Linked DNA regions of Homo sapiens: region 1 is linked to region 2. Evidence: promoter capture Hi-C in 16 types of primary human blood cells and fetal thymus (Javierre and others, 2016). All regions are on one chromosome and are shown on one strand. Each heading gives the region's core, a stretch centred on a gene start or on the middle of the fragment in contact. The rest is flanking DNA. Distances are from core to core; before and after follow the strand shown.

What was found. Contacts are between HindIII fragments. The CHiCAGO score rates a contact against its expected background, and 5 or more counts as called.
Region 1: a fragment that was not itself captured here is called in contact with the fragment with the promoter of COX6A1 in region 2 in 1 of 17 cell types (monocytes); the score reaches 7.1 in monocytes.

Annotation. Positions count from the first base shown.
Region 1 is chr12:122,503,303-122,507,315 of GRCh38, forward strand. RSRC2 (arginine and serine rich coiled-coil 2) reads right to left here. Exons shown (of 10, transcript NM_023012.6): 9 at 3,532-3,621; 10 at 152-2,404. The coding sequence ends at 2,225. Among named protein-coding and RNA genes, the nearest start is that of ZCCHC8, 4.4 kb to the left of the region's middle. RefSeq lists a silencer at 767-967. The HindIII fragment of the contact is 4,035 bases long and covers 262-4,013 here.
Region 2 is chr12:120,436,863-120,440,768 of GRCh38, forward strand. COX6A1 (cytochrome c oxidase subunit 6A1) reads left to right here and starts at 1,251. Exons shown (of 3, transcript NM_004373.4): 1 at 1,251-1,367; 2 at 1,517-1,659; 3 at 3,592-3,868. The coding sequence starts at 1,265. The coding sequence ends at 3,675. It also overlaps the pseudogene LOC124903126. RefSeq lists enhancers at 1,288-1,497, 1,424-1,945. The HindIII fragment of the contact is 8,043 bases long and covers 90-3,906 here.

The DNA.
Region 1 (4,013 bases), core at 1,029-3,528, 2.1 Mb after region 2:
TTGGGAGGCTGAGATGATGCAGATCATTTGAGGCCAAGAGTGGGAGACCAGCCTGGCCAACAGCCTGAGAACCCCATCTCAGGTACATTGTCATGGGCCTTTGGTGCCAGCTACTCAGGGGAGTGAGGTGGGAAGATCACTTGGACCAATATACATATACACACATATTTTATTGGACAGTGCTGCTCTAGATGAGCAAAGTACAGGCTGTATCACTCATCATGTATGGTCAGCTCCTAAAATAACTGTAGACACACAGGAAGCTTTTGCGTCCACACTGCCTTAGAAGGTCATGAACATTTTTAATAAGATTGATTTAAAAAGGCAGAGCTTAATTGAAAAATGTTGATGATCACGAAATGAAGGATCCATAGTGTCATTTCCTTAGAAGGCTTAGATTTGTCACTGAAACACGGTGAAAAGCCATTTTGCCATAGAATTTCTGTGCTCTGGGAAAATGAAAGGTTTATTAAAGTACATTAAAAATCTTACAATCTGGCTAGGTGAAGTGGATCACACCTGTAACCCCATCACTTTGGGAGCCCTGAGGTGGGAGGATTGCTTGAGGCCAGGAATTCAAGACCAACCTGGGCAACGTAACAAGACCTTGTCTTTATAAAAAATTAAAAACAAGCTAGGTGTGTTGGTGAGCACCTGTGGTCCCAGGTACTCAAGAGGCTGAGGTGGGAGGACTGCTTGAGCCTGGGGGAGCCTGCTGCAATGCACTGCACTCCAGCCTAGGACAGAAAGCAAAAAAAAAGAAAACACCCCATTACTTCATTTTCATGTATAAAAAAAATACCTAATGAGCAAGTTGGCAAGACTTAATTCCAGCTTTTAAAATAAGGCTGTCAATCTTATTCCTGTAGTCTTCCCTGATTGTAATGTGCTCTCATTCTGTGATGTTTTCCAAAGGATTTTTCAAAGGAAAGCCAAACCTTATTACTTTGCTGTAACTGAAGTAAATTAACTTCAAGTTTTGCAGGCCCCCCCCACCCCTTGGCTCCAGATTTATGTTCAATCTAGTAACAAAACATTTTCTAGGCTGGCTGCAGTGGCTCACGCCTATAATCCCGGCACTTTGGGAGGCTGAGGAGGGTGGATCACCTGAGGTCAGGAGTTCAGGACCAGCCTGGCCAACATGGTAAAACCCCACCTCTACTAAAAATACAAAAATTAGCTGGGTGCGGTGGTACGCCTGTAATCCCAGTTACATGGGAGGTGGAGGTGGGAGAATTGCTTGAACCTGGGGGGCAGAGGCTCTGGCAGTGAGCCGAGATTGTGCCACTGCACCCAGTTTAGGCAACAGAGCAAGATCCTGTCTCAAAAAAACAAACAAAAAAAATTTCTAATATTTTAATATTTTATAGTCTATGCTGGAGAAGACTTCAAAGGGATAATGAGCAAAAAGCATGCAAAGAACTTGTTATAAGGCACTTTATTAAAATAAAAGTGCTTACATCCCTTTAATGCATTAATCTATCTCCTGAATAACACATGTAATATTTGACAAATACTGAATACCAAGTCTGTCCCTTATAATAGGAAAACATACTATTTTAGTAAGTTTTCTCCTTCCACCTTTTACATTTTTGCTCACCACGGTATTGACTGTAGTATAGTTAACTGGCCTTAAAAAGGGTGGTGGGGAGGGGATTTCTAGCTAGTGTTTTCTAACAGCAATTGCCAAATGCTACAGAAACTATAAAACAAATTCAAAGAAACATCCCAGGTAACTTAAATTAACACCAGTTTTGAGAAAACCATTTTTATTATCATTACCACCCAGCTTATCTGTGCTGGATTATGTACCAAATGGCCAGATCTTCTAAAGAACATCTACATAACATTTCTTTCATGTTTCAAGAGATGAAAATAACTGTACAAGGTTAAGTACAAAAGTACACAAGACAGCGGACACGAAAAAATCCATGTATGAGATTTTATCCCCACCTGCAGCTTTTATATATTTGAAAAGTAGAATTCATGAACTAAAAAATATTATCCTTCTATAGTCCTGTCAAGTTTAATGGAAGTGGGTTTAACCTGATTACAACACTAACACCAGTATCACTGATCTGATATTTACAAAAATTTGTATTTTTCAATAAATTAAAGTCAATGCAACACCCATGCAAGCTAGAGTGCTAGCTGTTTGGTGAACAAGGACGTGACATCAGAACAAGAAGTCTATAAGTCCCAAACTTTACAAGTGTGATCATTTTCAAACTGCATCCATTCCTCGCATTGAAGATGTGAAACCCAAACCCATTCCTCTTTGTGTGTGGGTTTGTGATCTTGCCATTTCATACTGAGCATCTAAATTTCGAAATACTTCTTCCTGCTGCTTCAGAGTCTTGTAACTTTCTTCATCAACTGAGCTACATCCAGCTTCATCTTCACTCTAAAAATCAGACATAAAACATTACAATGAATTCAGATGGAGATAAATATTCTCTCACTTGACACTATTTTTTATGTATTTTTTTTTTTTGAGATGGAGTCTTGCTCTGTTGTCCCGTCTGGAGTGCAGTGGTGCCATCTCGGCTCACTGCAACCTCTGCCTCCTGGGTTTAAGTAATTCTTATGCCTCAGCCTCCCAAATAGCTGGGATTAGAGGCACATGCCACCACGCCCAGCTAATTTTTGTATTTTCAGTAGAGACGGGGTTTCACCACATTGGTCAGGCTGGTCTCGAACTCCTGACCTCAGGGATCCCCCCTGCCGCCTGCCCCCCGGCCTCCCGAAGTGTTGGGATTACAGGTGTGAACTAGGCTGACACTATTAAATTATACTTTTGGCCGGGTGCAGTGTGGCTCACGCCTGTAATCCCAGCACTTTGGGAGGCTGAGACGGGTGGATCACCTGAGGTCAGGATTTCGAGACTAGCCTGGCCAACATGGTGAAACCCCGTCTATACTAAAAACAAAAAACAAACAAACAAAAATATACTTTTGGGATATGTATTTGATCTCAATAACTTAATTTCCATTCATTATTGAACACCTCCAAAGGACAAGGCAATGTTCTTTCTAGGTCTGGAATATAGCAGGGTGTAACAAAAGTTAACTTCAGTTTAGTAGGTTGGAAAAAACATAATATGTAGAAGATGTCAGGGTATAAATGCCACAGAGGAAAGTAAAGTAGAAAATGGGGATGGAGGCTGGGCGCAGTGGCTCAGAACTGTGATCCAGGGCTTTGAGAGGCCGAGGTGGAAGGACTGCTTGAGCCTCGAAGTTTAAGGCTGCAGTGAGGTATGACTGCACCACTGTACTCCAGCCCAAGTGACAGAGCAAGCAGAGCAAAACCCCGTCTCTCTCTCTCTCTCCAAGTGTGTGTGTAGGGAGGACAGTGGGTAGGGGAGATGGAAATGTTTCAGAATGGGATTGCTTGTTATTTCACAAAAGGTGGTGGGAAAGAACTCAAAAACGCTGACACCTGAGTAAAGACCAGAACTAAGAAAATGAGGGAAGAACAGTGCAGGAGGGCTAATAGCTAATACAAAGATCCCCTGGCACATGTGAAACTCACCTTAATACCCATCAATTTCCTAAATTTGACATTTTGGTCCTTGTTTCCAAAATTCAATTTTTCCCATATTTCAGCAGATTGGGATTTGTCCTGTTAACAAACACTGAACTTTAAAATATGTAAAATTTAAATATTTTTTAGGACATGAAATCTCTCAACAATGTCTAAATTAAAAAAAAAAACACCATGGATAGCATTCAATCAATGTAAGTTTAATTATTTCAAGACTTAAGAAACCACAAAGCAAAGAAATACAAGCAAGAGGTTGGCGCCGTGCTTCACTCCTATAATCCCAGCACTTTGGAAGGCCGAGGTGGGCAAATCACCTGAGGTCAGGGGATCGAGACTAGCCTGGATGACTAGGTGAAACCCCGTCTCTACTAAAAATACAAAAAACTAGCCTGGCATGGTGGTGGGCACCTGTAGACCCAGGAGGGTCTCAGGAGTCTGAGGCAGGAGAATTGCTTGAACCTGGGAGGCAG
Region 2 (3,906 bases), core at 1-2,500:
GCTATACTGTGTGTTTACACATAGGTGTGTCTTTAGAGGAAAGGGTTCAAAGCTTTCATTAGATTCTTTTTTTTTCTAATAAAGAAAAAAGCTTTGTTGCCCAGGCTGGTCTCAAACTCTCAAGCTCAAGCAATCTGTCCGCCTCGGCCTCTCAAAGTGTTGGGATTACAGCCATGAGCCACCACGCTGGTCCTCATTACATTCTCAAAGGGGCCTATTGAAAAAAAAAAAAAAAAAAAAAAAAAAGGCCGGGCACAGTGGCTCACGCCTGTAATCCCAGCACTTTGGGAGGCCGAGGAAGGCGGATCACAAGGTCAGGAGATGGAGACCATCCTGGCCAATATGGTGAAACCCTGTCTCTACCAAAGTACAAAAAAAAAAATTAGCCAGGCATGGTGGTGCGTGCCTGTAATCCCAGCTATTCAGGAGGCTGAGGCAGTAGAACTGCTTGAACCTGGGATGCAGAGGTTGCAGTGAGCCAAGATTGCACCGCTGCACTCCAGCCTAAGCAACAAGAGTCAAACTCCGTCTCAAAAAAAAAAAAAAAAAAAAAAAAAAAAAAGATGAGACTGTTGAGTCAGGATTAGGATCCAGGTCTGCTGGCACCAATTTCAGTGCTCTTTATACTTTCTGTTGCTATTCATTCATTCATCCATTCATTCAGCAAATTTATATCAAGTATCTGGTATGTGCCAGGTATGATTCCAAATTACACCATTCCCAGATTATTCTGAGAATGCTGCAGTGCCAAACTCTTGGTATCACAGACTTTATATTCTAGTGGGGGAGACAGACAAAATAATAATATAACGACGAAGGTGCAATGTTATGTGCTATGAGAAAACGCAGTCGGAGGATGGCGAGGAAGGGGAACGGAATTTTAGATAGGGCGGTCTGGGATCAGAACCTCCAGATGCCCGTCCATGGACTCCAACGAAGGGAGCGATTCCAGGTACCAGGGCACCCTGCACAAACCTCTCTTGAGCTTCCGCCTCGCCCAGGTGGGGACGGTAGGGAGACCGGAGGGCACACGCATGCGCACGAAGGAAACGGTAAAGCCTGAAGGGAGGTGCAGAGCGCATGCTCTCTCTTGCCCGAGATGCCGAGGATTTTGACAAGGACTCCGTCGTCCCGGATGATAGTGCTCAGGTTAATGCCAGTGGGAGGGCGGCGCCCAATAGTAACTTCCTTTGGAGGTTGTAGTACCGCCCCCAGAGCCAATTTTCCACTTCCGCTTCCGGCGCTGCGGCAGTCCAGATCAAAAATGGCGGTAGTTGGTGTGTCCTCGGTTTCTCGGCTGCTGGGTCGGTCCCGCCCACAGCTGGGGCGGCCTATGTCGAGTGGCGCCCATGGCGAAGAGGGCTCAGGTACTGGGGCCGGGGTCGACGGGTCGAGCCTCAGCCCCACTCGGGCGAGACAGGGAGGGACTGTGACCTTGGCCCGAGGCCTTGCGGGAGGGAAAGTGAGACCCGGGCCCGCCCCATACCGGCGCTGAACGTTTGTGGCTTCTCCGCAGCTCGCATGTGGAAGACTCTCACCTTCTTCGTCGCGCTCCCCGGGGTGGCAGTCAGCATGCTGAATGTGTACCTGAAGTCGCACCACGGAGAGCACGAGAGACCCGAGTTCATCGCCTACCCCCATCTCCGCATCAGGACCAAGGTACGCCCTTGTACATCTCTTCAAGCGTCCGTTCTCTTTTCGTTATGTGTGCCTTAGTGCAAGTTCTTCATTCTCTGAAGGCATGGGTGCCAGGCGTGTACAGCTTGTTTATCCTCACAAACAGAAAATGTATTTTCTTCCATTTTGTGGATGGACAGCTGACACTTGGGATTACGTCTCAATTCTCTTCTTCAAGGTCATACAATAAGTGCTCTTCAGTTTCCCTTTTCTCCGATTCATCCTACCTCCTGCCTTCTGAGACAGTTCTTTTTTTTTTTTTTTTTTTTTTTTTTACTTCTGAGACAGTTCTGAAACAGGTGTCCGTTGTGTAAAGCCTGGAGGTTTGGGAAATCCAATTAGAGTGGCAAAGTCTGAAGGTGGTTCGCGTAAGCGAACCCAGCAGCTACATGGGAGGCTGAAGCAGGAGAATCCCTTGAACCTAGGAGGCGGAGTTTGCAGGGAGCTGAGATCGTGCCACTGCACTCCGGCCTGGGCAACAGAGCGAGACTCTGGTCTCAAAACAAAACAAAACAGCAACAACAAAACATGGGCATCTGGCAGCTACTAGTTGCATAATGAAGAGACTGACAGCTTTCTCTATTCCCCACCAATACCTTTTCTCGACTGTTTTATCATTGGTTGTTGATGTAGATATATTACAATGTTGTGTCCTCTGTTGTTTGCTGTATCTTTAACAAGGGCTTATTCTGATTCTTCAATACTGGCCATGCGCGGTGGCTCACGCCTGTAATCCCAGCACTTTGGGAGGCCAAGGTGGGTGGATCGCCGGAGGTCAGGAGTTCAAGACCAGCCTCGTCAACATGGCGAAACACTATCTCTACTAAAAGTACAAAAAGTAGCCGGGCGTGGTGGCGGGCGCCTGTAATCCCAGCTACTCGGGAGGCTGCGGTGGGAGAATCTAGGAGGTTGAACCCAGGAGGAGGAGGTTGCAGTGAGCCAAGATCCAGCCATTGCACTGCAGCCTGGGCAACAGGAGTGAAACTCCGTCTCAAAAAAAAATAGTAATAATATACTTGATCTTAGCCAAAAGGCCGAGAAGTGATGAAAAAAGTTATTATTATTATTATTATTATTACATCACCTAGCCCATATAGGACTGGCCTTGTAGAAACTTAACCTAGACTCTTGAATTTGTTGAGTCTTTGAGCGGCACTCCCATCCTTGTACAATGCAATTAGAAGCCAAACAGTAAAGGTTTCTCAGCCTCAGCACTGTTGACATTTGGGGCTGGGTAATTCTTGTTGGGGGGCTATCTTGTGCATTGTGAAATGTTTAGCCATATCCTTGGCCTGTACCCACTAGGTGGCAGTAGTACCTGCGCAACCCCACTCCCGCTTCCCCCTCCCCCGCCCCCATCACAGTGTCTCCCGATACTACCCAGTGTGCCCTGAAGGGGCAAAATCACCCTGGGTTGGAGACCGTTGCCCTAAAGTAATGCTTTTCAAAGGTAATAGGCAAGATAATTCAGGGTGGGCTGCAGTTTCCCAGCCCAGATATTGTTTGAAGTCTGGGATGGTGCCAGAAATCTGCATTTAATTAAGCATCTCCCTCCCCTAATACTGCCACCATTTTGATATAGGTGATTTGAGGATTACACTTTCATAAACACAGCACTGGATATACTAGTTACTAGGGAGAGGATGATGAGTAACTAACTTGAGCTTGCATTTTCTGCCATCCATATTTGTTTCTGGAATTAAAACTGTCCTGTAGCCAGGATAACTTTAAGGGCTCCCCTGGTAGTTATAAGAGCTCCTTAAATAATGGGAAGGTTGAACTACACCAGTAGATAAAGGACTAATTTCCATTTTGTTTTTATATATGATCTGTCACCCCGTTATAAGCAGTTCATGACGGTGTTCTTTCTAAATTATTTTCTGGAATTATCTAACTGACATCTTCACTCCACAGCCGTTTCCCTGGGGAGATGGTAACCATACTCTATTCCATAACCCTCATGTGAATCCACTTCCAACTGGCTACGAAGATGAATAAAGAGAATCTGGACCACTACCCGGGCACCAGGGACCACAGCACTGGTTTGGACCGTTACTCTGCACATGGACCAGAAAAAGTATATGGGACCTTAAGCTCACCTTCTTTACTTGTATCAAATGATGACTGGTATACTGGTCTCCCATCCCTTTGCTTGTGGCAGGAGATGGCTTAAATAAATAACTTAAATTTAGATTGGTCATGAGCTGAGAGTTACTTTCTTTGGTTGTG